Regions from separate parts of the Homo sapiens genome. Here regions 2 and 3 are each linked to region 1. Evidence: promoter capture Hi-C in 16 types of primary human blood cells and fetal thymus (Javierre and others, 2016). All regions are on one chromosome and are shown on one strand. The core of a region is centred on a gene start or on the middle of the fragment in contact, and the rest is flanking DNA. Distances in the headings are between cores, read along the strand shown. Region 1 holds the start of AK7 (adenylate kinase 7). Region 2 overlaps ATG2B (autophagy related 2B). Region 3 overlaps ATG2B (autophagy related 2B).

Region 1 (3,869 bases), core at 1,004-3,503:
ATAGAAAAACTAGCCGGGTGTGGTGGCACGCGCCTGTAATCCCAGCTACTGGGGAGGCTGAGGCAGGAGAATGGCTTGAACCCAGGAGGCAGAGGTTGCAGTGAGCCGAGGTCGCGCCACTGCACTCCAGCCTAAAGGATAGAGCAAGACTCCATCTCAAAAAAATAATAAATTTGGTATGAGCAAACTGTTCCCAAATTGAGTTGGCAAAACTTCAAAGCGTTAGTTTATCAAAACAAGTTTTAATGAGAGTTGCATGTATAGAAAAGAAAATGGGGTGGGGACAGAAAAACGAAATATAAAGGCTCCCATCTGTACAAGTGTGCCTTAGCCTTGCAGGAAAAAAAAGCAATAATTTCACCTTTGGCGACCACTTCAGAAAATGCTTCACATATGTCTTATTTAATCCTAACAGCCTTGTTAGGCTGGTGGTATCACTCCTATTTTACAGACAATTTAACAGCATAGGGAAAGTTAAAAGATTGGTCCCAGCCTCCCACAAATCACTGGAGAGCTGAAACTCAAAGCCAAGTCTCATGAGTGCCTGAAAGCCCAGAGCCTCCAAGCTGTCTGAAGATGTTGGGCCACCTCCGTTTTTTGAAACAACCAGTATTTTTTAAAAAGAAGAAGGCCAGGTGGGGTGCCTCACACCTGTAAATCACAGCACTTTGAGAGGCCGAGGCGGGTGGATCACTTGAGGCCAGAAGTTCAAGACCAGCGTGACCAACATGCTGAAAACCTGTCTCTACTAAAAATACAAAAATTAGCCGGGAACGGTGGTAGGCGCCTGTAGTCCCAGCTACTTCGAAGGCTGAGGCAGGAGAATCGCTTGAACCCGGGAGGCGAGGTTGCAGTGAGCTGAGATTATGCCATTGCACTCCAGTCTGGGTGACAGAGCGAGACTCCATCTCAAAAAAATAAATTAAAAATAAAAAGAACAAGAACGCTGGCGTGGTGGCTCATGCCTGTAATACCAGCACTTTGGGAGGACGAGGCAGGAGAGTTTCTTGAGCTCCGGAGTTAGAGACTAGCCTGGGCAACAAACATAGTGAGACCCTGTCTCTATTAAAAATAATAAAAAGAACGAGAAGAAACCACGCACACACAATTGCTGCAAGTGTTAAATATTTGCATTTAAGGAGTTAATGCTTAAGGCATGAAAACAGTTCAATATGATCAGGCTATTCCAAGGGAACTGCGTATTCTTAGTCCACCACAACCTTTATGGTCCAGTGATCACCGAGGTGAATGTTATCTTTTAATTTGTGGATTTATCTCAGCAACTGCATGTATAATCTCTTGTGGAACGGTCAAGTCTAAATTTCTTCCCTTGGTGAATGTGAGCGAATCCCGGGCGCCTACGGGCTCTGGTCGCCCCCAGCCGACACCAGGGGTCTTCCCGGAACGTGCGTCTGGAAACAACCCCCAAGGGAGCTGAGCCGGCGGACCAAGCCGCACCTGCCGCAAGGCGGGACCACGCTAGCGTCGCTCGGGTGTTCGGGAGCCCGAAACTCCATGGCAACAGCTTTTCTTCGCAGCTGAGGCTTACGTCCCGTCGCCCCGGCCAGACCACCCCATGGGAGCGTGCTGAGTAACTCCCACGTGTCGGGGAGAGGCCTAGGCTGTGGGCCATTCCCTCTTCTTCAGAATTCTCATTATTTTTAGTCATCGGGTCAAGCGGACACAGGGATGTGTTTCCAGACTTTCCGAACAATGGAGATTAAAAAGGCACAGCAATCACATGGCCCCCCGGGACAGACGCCCAGGGAGCTTCGGAAAGAAACCATGCACTGCCCAAGGGCTCCCAGTGGGCAGCAAGCCAGGGTGAGACCCGGGCTGCACGCGCGGCGCCGCGGAAAGCACTCGCAGGGACATCCGCCTGGCGCCCAGCAGCCGACAGCGCGCGCAGTTGCGAGCCCTGAGCCCCGCTTCGCCCGGCGCGCCCCGCCCAGCCCACTGCACTACACACCCCGCCCTGCCCGGCATGCCCCGCCCAACCCCCCGGCACGACTCGCCCCGCCCTACCCGGCACGCCCCGCCCAGCGACCGGCACAGCCTGCCCCGTCCCGCCTGGCACGCCCTGATTAGCGCCGGGCACGACACGCACCGCCCCGCCCGGCACTCCCTGCTTCGCCCACGACACGCCCCTCCCCGCCCGGCAAACTGCCCGGAGCCAAGGCCCCGCCCCCAGAGAGAACCTGCCCCGCCTCCCTGGCCCGGGCCCCGCCTCCTTGGCAAGCGAGTGGCGCTTTCACCTTAGCAACCAGCGCGGCTCCCACCATGGCTGAAGAAGAGGAAACTGCTGCTCTCACGGAGAAGGTTATCCGGACCCAGAGGGTGTTTATAAACCTGTTGGATTCCTACAGCAGCGGAAACATCGGGAAGGTGAGCGGCGGCGGCGGCCCAGAGCCTCACGCCAGCTCTCAGCTCCCAGCCCTCGGCCCCCGGTCCGCAAACCCAGCGAGGGTCTGCGCCCCAGGGCGCTGTCGGGGCCTTTCCTCAGGGAGGGTCCCGCGTCCTGGGCACCACCAATGCCCCCTGGACCCCAGTCCGCACCCAGGCTGGTCAAGAGATTCTACATGGAAGCTCAGGTGTCTGGAAATCACTGGTCCATCCCCTGTTCCTCCTTTTAATGAGGGGAAACTGAGGCTAAGAGGCAGGGACTTGCCCAAGATCACATAGAGAGTTGAGGCCAGAACCTGGACAGAGACTCCAGGTCTCTTGCCCCCTCCTAGGTTCTCTTTCTACCCTTCCATCGATTTTGAAGCAGGCAGCTAAACGAGAAAATAAATCAATTTTTTTTTTTTGAGACGGAGCCTTGCTCTGTCGCCCAGGCTGGAGTGCAGTGGCGCGATCTCGGCTCACTGCAAGCTCCGCCTCCCGGGTTCACGCCATTCTCCTGCCTCAGCCTCCGAGTAGCTGGGACTACAGGCGCCCGACACCGCGCCCGGCTAATTTTTTGTATTTTTAGCAGAGACGGGGTTTCACTGTGTTAGCCAGGATGGTCTCGATCGATCTCCTGACCTCGTGACCCACCCGTCTCGGCCTCCCAAATTACAGGCCGAGTAAATCCAAAAGGGATTACAGGCGTGAGTAAATCAAATTTTTATATTGCCCATGAAGCGTTTTTCATTCATCCATCCCTTCAATATATGGTTTTTGAGCATCTATTATGGACCAGACACTGTTTGGGTCCCCGAGTTCCATTAAGTTTCCTCACCTTTCTGTGTCTTTATCCCTGGAAAATGAAGATATTCAGAAAAAGGGCTCTGGGGCCCTTCATGCTAATATGATCAGTTGTCAAAAGAAAGCCATGATTTTATCATTCCCTGTGGGTAGGACCCGTCCATCTGAATTCTGTCCTCTAGAGCTACAGAGAAATCTAATCTCACCCTGGACAGACTTCTCTGAGGCTAATGACTGCACTTTCGAACAGGACAAATCTGCTTAAAATAGGATGAGGCTACAGTACGTACAATCTGTATTAGTTTTCTAGGGCTGTGGTAACCAATTGCCACAAACTGGATGACCTTATAAAACAGAAATTATTCTCTCGCAGTTCTTGAGGGCAGAAGTCCAAGATCAAGGTGTCAGCAGGGTTGGTTTCTACTGGAAGCTCCAGGGGAAGAACTGTTGCTTGCCCCTCTCCTAGCTTCTGGTAGTTGCCAATAATTCTTGGCACCCCTTGGCAGTAGACTCCAATCTCTGCCACCTTCTTCACATGGTGTTCTCTCCCCTGTGTCTCTGTGTCAAAACTTCCCTCTTCTCATAAGGACACCAGTTGTTGGATGAGGACTCACCCTATCCAATATGGCTTCATTTTAACTTGATTACATCTGCAAAGACCCTATTTCCAAATAAGGCCACAT
Region 2 (3,869 bases), core at 347-2,846, 100 kb before region 1:
GTATCGTTTTAAAAACAAAAGGACCCAACCATTTCACAATGGCTCTTTTTGGATAGACTAAGGCAGTCTAAAAAGATACCTGTATGGTTTGAACCATTCTGTTTGTGAGTTCTAGAGCAGCCATCGCTGTCGAGGTACCAAAGGAAGCAGCGCCTCTCTGAAACCCTCTGACAATGCGGCCATCCTTCCGGTACTGCTCTATTGGGAGCCAGACCAAGTCCTTTAGGCCTTGTACTACAACAGTCAACACAAAATCAACATCAGTGCCACAGTTCAGACTTTTCTATCATTCTAACCCTGGGGTTTTTAACTCCTAAAACTGGAGGCAAAGTTTTGTGTATATGAGTACATATGTGAGTTTTCTAGACTAATGGTCCTCACATAAGTTCTCAAAGGGATAAGAATTACTCATCTGAAAAAATAACTTATCTTTTGATTAAAAAAGAAGAAAACTCACCTAATTGTACTAGTGAATGCATAGGTCCAACACCTCCCAGGATTCCTGGTAGCTGGTTCTTCTTAATGTCATTAAGCCACTCAGTGATTGCATATGAGAATAATTTGTCAACGCCTAGTAAACTAGAGCAAATGATTATTAGTATGTCAAAAGGAGAAATACATTTATAGACACAGATTAGTTTGAGGGTTTTTTTTTACTTAAAACAAATTCTACAAATTATAAGGGCAAATATTACAGGTGCTTCAAAAACAGGTAACATTTTTCAAATCAAAAAGAAACACAAATCATCCTTTTAACTCACAACCTGAATTTCTCTAAATATACATATACATACATACACACACACATATATATAAAATCCAATTCTAATGTTAATAATTTCTACAAGACTCAGGTAATACGTATTAGTGTGTTTTTCCAATGTTCTTATTTCTTGAACATCTTAAGGCTTTGGCATAAGATTAACCCAAAGTTTCTAAATTGCCAGTAATTGCTACTAAGAACTTCCAATCTTTTCACTGAATAAGCTAATTTACAACCTTAGAAAATTATTTAAAATATCCTAAACTATAACTGTTTTTTCCAAATACTACTCTTTTCAAACTACTTCTAATCCCTCAGAATAGAAATCAGTGCCTAAATCTTAAGAGTCCTCTAAAAATGAGCTCTCTAAATAAAATACTGTAAAATTGTGTATGCATGCTAAGAAAACTCAGTTTTTAAATTTGTTGTACACTAACTTTGATAACTTCACTTAAAGCTTCATATAATAAATTCACTTACCCATGTCGATAGGAAAGCCTCTTGAGCTTTAGTTCAGAGCAGTTTAACTGAGCCAGACCAATCAAAATCCCAGCTAGCGTACCCTTCAAAATTAAAAAAGGCCAAATTAACCTTACTGTAAATTAAGAGACTCAACATCTAAAATAATTGTTATTTTGAAAGTCAAAGCAGTAGTCATTATTGATACTAAAACACTTAAAATATTTACAGTAAAAATATATATCTTACAATACATATGACCCAATTTATACCAAATTTTACTCATGGTACTTAAGTAAATATTTACATTAAAAACAATTAAATTTAAAAACCTTGCACTTCATTTCAAACATATATATAAACTATGACAAAGCAAAGTTAAAAATAAAAACGAGCTCATTAGAGAAACATATGATAATTTTGTGGAGTATATTTGTAGAGTTTCCCAACCTGATCCATTGATACATGTTTGCCATGATAATCAAGTCGAATGGGAACTTCTGACGTGAATCTAAATTCTCTGAAGATAAAGGAAGGAGGGAGTTATTTACATTTACAATTACTAATAGGTGAAATTAGATATAAATTAATTTGTTCAATTGGAGAATAAAAACAAAACCACAAAATAAATCATATAAATATCTTAAGAACTAAATAAAAGAGAATGTCTTTTAGCTCTATCTTTTCCTAATATAACAATTAAACAGATGTTAATCATCTCATATATTATTATATTTGCATTTCTCACAGAAAGCTTTTCTTAGTTACGTCTATATAGTGTAGGAAAATAAAAATAATACTAACATAAAATGTAATAAAAACCTTTTCTCAGTTTATGAAATAATGTACACTTACAAAAATTTATTCTTATATATATTCACAATTCATTCAAAGAATAAATTAATAAAAGCAACCTTCAAGATTAAACCAGATAGTCATGACCAAGAAATATAAAGAGAAGGCCTAAGGAATTATTTTGACTGTCTGGTAAAACAGAGCCAGCAATCCTGGCATGAACCCCAGGTTCATCTATGACATGCAACTGTGGGCAAGTCACTTGAACTCTCTGCTGCTCAGTCTTCAGAAATTGTTAAAATGCCACCTACATTGTTAAATTTTGTGAGAATCCTTGAAACTAATGATTCTAAGTAAACAGAATTATCGACAAACAAATATAGGGAACGGTGTGAGAATGAAATTATAATTATACAGTTGTCCCTTGGTTTCTGAAGTGGATTGCTTCCAGGGCCTTTATGGATACCAAACCCCTTGATGTTCAAGTCCCTTATATAAAATGGGATAGTATTTGCATATATGCCACACATATCCTTTCATATACTCTAAATCATTTCTAGATTACTTATAGTATTAATACAATGTAAATGCTGTGCAAATCATTTTTGTATTTTTAATTTGTATTATTTTTATTGCCTTTTTTAATTAATATTTTGGTTGAATCTCAGATGTAGAATTCCAGATATAGAGGGCTGGTTGTACACTGATGGTACACATCTAACAAAATGATCTGGCTTCCAAAAGTTGGCTGCAAACAATGTTTGGAACTTGAAACACAGTTTTCCCACAGAATTAATGTTGGTGGTTACATCCTAAGCCATCTCACCAAAGTCCACTGCGCCTACAACAAAATGGAGATGCTATATTTACACCAATCACTACCAGAAGCCTCAGACCCCAGGTCACGCCCATCCCCTGAATACTCAGCTCCACTTGGCTGTCGGGCCAGTGCCCTCCAATACTCTCCTTTCTCACTTTTTTTTTCTCCATGGCACATATTAATAGGACAAACCATTTATTTTAATTATTTGTAATCTCAATTTGTAAACTCAATTAAATATTTTCTCTACTTTGTTCATTTGTGCCTAGATCAAAACCTGGCATACAGTTAAGTGCTCAGTAAATATTTGTAAAATGAATAAATGTTTGGAGGAAGGGGGCTCTCATGACATTACTAAAAACTGTACTGGATTTTCTGGATTAGAGATAAGAAAATCTGTGTTCTAGTTGTGCCTTGGCCACGAACTGTGGTCTTGAGCAAGTCAACTAATCTCTCTGGGCATTCATTTCCTCATTTGTAAGGTGTGTAATTTAGACTATGGCACTGATTAGGAGCCTTTGAGAGTACAAATGAAAATCTATAAGCTATTCTCAATATTTTAAATAGTCTAATGGAAAAAATAAACATTTACCTAAGTAAGTATAGGGCTTGTGTACTTTTTAAACGTAAATAAATGGGTAACCCTACTTCCTCTGGGCTAAAAAAAAAAGGCAAAATTCTTTGCTTTCAGGCCCATGTTTACAAAAACCAAATTGGCAGTTTATAAATGTGACTAATAAAATAAGAATGCATATTATCACTTAAGATACATGTTTTTGTAAAAATAAAAGGATCAATGTAGGAAATTAATTTTAAAAGGTCCTTCTTTGGCGGTGGAAAGATTTAGAACCACCAGGAATCATCTATTCCAAGATCTTTCCAATTATCATATTCCATTTTTTCTACCTATTTTCATCACTATGCAAAATATTTAAAACGTGACAACCCTTCCAATTAGTAATACTGCTGACTTTGGCCCATGCCTAAAGTCTAACTTCAGAACCTAGAGAGAAAGAGAGAAATCAGCAACCC
Region 3 (3,869 bases), core at 373-2,872, 81 kb before region 1:
AGCTGGGAAAGAAGGGATAACTAAATAAGTTTGATCTCCTCAACTCTGATGGTTGCAATGACTTTCATCCCTTTGACATAAAGCCCCTGTAGGACGAGGCCTCATTTCTTGGACACCTAACAACAGTAGGGGGCACACACAGCAGGGGAAATATACTAAACGGTGATTCAGAGCTCAGTTCCAGCACCAAATACTTAACCAAATACTTCACCAATGGTTGGTGAACTGTAGATTCATTAAACCCAGATCGTGCTTTTTATATGTGAGCATGACTCTAAAATAGCAAGTTCCAAGCTGAAAGGGATAATTTAAAATAAGAAGAATGTTTTTTAAAAGGGAATAAATAGTAGGCGGGGTGTCATAAATCACCTTATCGTGAGAATACAGCAGGAACAAGGAGTCACAAACAGAAATTAACACAAATAAAGTGTAAAATAATCCTGAACAAAAGACAACAAACACGATGCCAGTCAGGCCTTTACTAGAGTACATAACAGAGGCTCTAGAACCTAAGGGGACTGAGATTTCTGTTCATAAGAGAGACCACAAAGAATAACAATGAAAAAGAAAAAATGCTAAACAAACTGGACATTCTTCAATTTGGACATAAGAGAAGTTAGAAAGGTGACACTTGGGGCAGAAAAGTGCATTGAACTGGACACCAAAATATCTGGGTTTGTTGCTGTTTCTGCTACTCTTTAGAGCAATCATCTAAATTCTCTGGGTCTTATTAATTTTTAACCTCTCTATCTCACCAGGTCATCATGAAAGGAAAAGGAAGTCATATATGACAAAGTACACTGAAAACTGGATTGTCTTAGAGATAAAAAAATAGGGAAAATATGATGATATAAGTAAGTCTTCTGGTAACAATACTAACACCTGCCATCTATCTTTTCATAGCATTTTTACATACAACTTGCATAGAACAAGCTTTTGCATGATAAATGTTTTCTTTCTTCCCTTAGGACAGATGAAAATAACAAGTCTAGAAAAAAAAAAGTATGATGTTTGCTAGGAAGATTAATGGAAACAAAGAATATCAAAACAGCAGAATGGTTTTCCAAAAAGGCCCATGAAACCACCGTTTCAGACCCCATTATTCTGAAGGTAAAGAACAGATGAATGACTTTCAAAGTTTCTTTTCTACCTTATGACTGTCATGAAGACCTCAATAATGTAAACATGTCACGACATGGCAGGGACTGGAGGAATCACATTGCTGACTGTACCTTAGACCTTCTTTGAAAGGCTCCAGGCTTCATATCTGCCTTGTTAGGTGTCTGCAAGTCACCATAGCTTGCAATGTACTGAATGAGATTCATTAACGCAGCACAAGAGTCTGAGCACGTTCTGATATGGACAACATCGCTGGAACAGTGTAACTCAAAGCGGGGCTCAGTCTGGACAAGACACAGAAAAAGGGATGAAAATGTTTTCCAAATGAGACAAAAGTTTCTTTTTTTGCATAGATTTACATTAAATAAGATTCATGATAATCTGTCTCGCTACATAAAAAAAGTATTTAAATAAATCCATTTTTAATATACTTACTCTATTTCTGACCAAAATTAGGTACACGGAAAAATGTTAAACTCAATTTTTTTAATCTCTTAAAAAATAGAACTTAAAATTTTCATTTATTTTAATAACTCACTTGCTCTCCATCAGAATCAGACTTCACTGCAGTTATGGTTAACTCCAAAAGCCCCATATCCATCACACGAACATAATCTAAAATTTTTAAAATTAAGAAAATCTCTTCAGTACAGCTTTCAAAAATGTGTATCCAACCAACACCCAATACAACTAGCATTCCTTTAAAATTCATTGCAGAGAGCACTACAAATAATTATAATGCAATGAAAATAGTTTCATCCCATAGAAGTCCTAAAATTCACTTTATTTTTTGTTAGAAACAAAAATTATCTTAAATAAAAATTTGTAGTATATATAGTAATTTGATGTACTTAACTAGCATTATAAGAACATTACAATTTCAAACTGAAAAACCAGTATCTGAAAAATGAAGCTGTGAATATATACCACATGATCACTATATACTTAAAGACCCTTTAATCTTTAAGGATCTTTAATAAGATTCTTAGTTCACTAGCATTATCCCAGAGTTAAAATGCTTTAAAATTATTTACGCACAAAAATAAAGCAGAATTTATCTACTCCATTTGTTTTTTAACTCTTACCTCTACTCAGATTTATAGTGACAGTATTGCATTTGTCAGATAGATGTAAAGCAGCTTCATCCAAGATTATTCTGAGGCAAGAAAGATAAAACCAACATCTGAAAAACTAAGCTTTGAGTATCATACCCCATAATCACTATATGCTTAATTGCATCATTCTTTCTGGTATGAACATTGTTGAAATCATAAGCAGTTTCTAACTTATAACTGTCATCTAACATTTTTTAAAAACTGTTTATGAATGCTAGGAATATTTAAATGGTGTAAAGAATTAGATTAAATCATCTACTCAAATTAATTCTAAATTTTTGGCAGTTTTTAAAGAGATGCCCAAATTCACAAGGTTTAAACTATAGTATAAAGATAGAGTGGGCCAGATGTAGTGGCTCACACCTGTAATCCCAGCCGTTTGGGAGGACAAGGCAGGAGGACCACCTGAGGCCAGGAGTTCTCAACTAGCCTGGGCAACACAGCAAGACCCCTTCTCTACAAAAACAAAACTTTTTTTTTAATCAGCCAGGGATAGAGGCACACGTCTATAGTCCTAGCTACTCAGTAGGGTGAGGGCAAAAGATCACTTGGGCTCAGGAGTTGAAAGCTGTAATAAGCTGTGATCATGCCACTGCATTCCAGCCTGGGCCACACAGAGCAAGACCCTGTCTCTAAAAAATAAAAAAATTAAATAAAAAGTATAAAGTGTATCAGGTAGCATGGGAAGTTTACCATATGTTTTAAAATGCAAACTTTTTAAAGAATCTCCAGAATTAATTTCTTCCCTAAAAATGAAATGCAATAATAAATGGGTAGATGAAACATGTCACCTGAGAAAAATTGGGTAATTTGGGTAAAAGGTTATAACTATTAGTAAAAGAACGTTTAACAAAAAATTGAGACTTTAATAAAATGGTTTAGGTAAATATCAATTGGTATGTTTCGAACAGCTTTGTTTAGTATACAATGAAGTTTACACAGGTACCTGAGAGTAGAGGAAGATTTATCCAATGCAACGCTACTGGAAACACTGAATGTTTCCACGGTAAGAAGAGATCGGATTGGCAAATAAAGGGGTCTAATGCCAAAGAGAAACAAAAGAACATCAGTTTGATACGGCTCCAGAAACTCTATTAAAAACAACAACAACAACAACAATTTGAACCTTAACTCTACTGAATTATGTATTTTTTTCAAAATTTAGTAGCATTTTAAATAAAACTTTATTTTGTTCCATTTGTGAACTTACCTATAATCAAGTGCACAGCTCCAAAGATGAACATGAAAAGTTGTAAATGAAGTTGGAGGATTATATCCCAAAACAGGTTCATCAGCAATATTCAAGAAGTATAAAATCTATAATCACAAAAAATTAAAACGCCCTGCTTTAGAAGAAAAAAAAGGTTTCATATAATATCCTTAATACCAATGTAAACCAGAATATCTCACAGAAAAAATCATTTAATTGGAAAATCATAACGGTAAAAGGAAAAAAATCATCATTTTGAAGGAATTAGTTTCAAAAAGTACTTGCATCAGAAAAGAAGGTAATGGATACTGATGGATGTGTTCGTTTGACTACAATAGGCATTTTACTATGCATATCAAGACATGTTATTCACCTTATATATAATAAAAATAAATTTTTTAAAAGTATTTGCAAAATTAGAATTT

Evidence for each region. Contacts are between HindIII fragments. The CHiCAGO score rates a contact against its expected background, and 5 or more counts as called.
Region 2: a contact is called between a fragment that was not itself captured here and the fragment with the promoter of AK7 in region 1, in 1 of 17 cell types (total CD8 T cells). The highest score is 5.3, in total CD8 T cells.
Region 3: a contact is called between a fragment that was not itself captured here and the fragment with the promoter of AK7 in region 1, in 1 of 17 cell types (erythroblasts). The highest score is 7.3, in erythroblasts.

What each region holds. Positions count from the first base shown.
Region 1 is chr14:96,389,875-96,393,743 of GRCh38, forward strand. AK7 (adenylate kinase 7) reads left to right here and starts at 2,254. Exons shown (of 18, transcript NM_152327.5): 1 at 2,254-2,385. The coding sequence starts at 2,281. RefSeq lists a silencer at 1,814-2,323. The HindIII fragment of the contact is 12,427 bases long and covers 1-3,869 here.
Region 2 is chr14:96,290,357-96,294,225 of GRCh38, forward strand. It overlaps ATG2B (autophagy related 2B), which reads right to left. Exons shown (of 42, transcript NM_018036.7): 37 at 1,673-1,742; 38 at 1,244-1,326; 39 at 458-579; 40 at 80-234. Among named protein-coding and RNA genes, the nearest start is that of BDKRB1-AS1, 24 kb to the left of the region's middle. The HindIII fragment of the contact is 756 bases long and covers 1,219-1,974 here.
Region 3 is chr14:96,309,885-96,313,753 of GRCh38, forward strand. It overlaps ATG2B (autophagy related 2B), which reads right to left. Exons shown (of 42, transcript NM_018036.7): 24 at 3,445-3,551; 25 at 3,181-3,273; 26 at 2,205-2,275; 27 at 1,658-1,734; 28 at 1,233-1,403. Among named protein-coding and RNA genes, the nearest start is that of BDKRB1-AS1, 43 kb to the left of the region's middle. The HindIII fragment of the contact is 1,382 bases long and covers 932-2,313 here.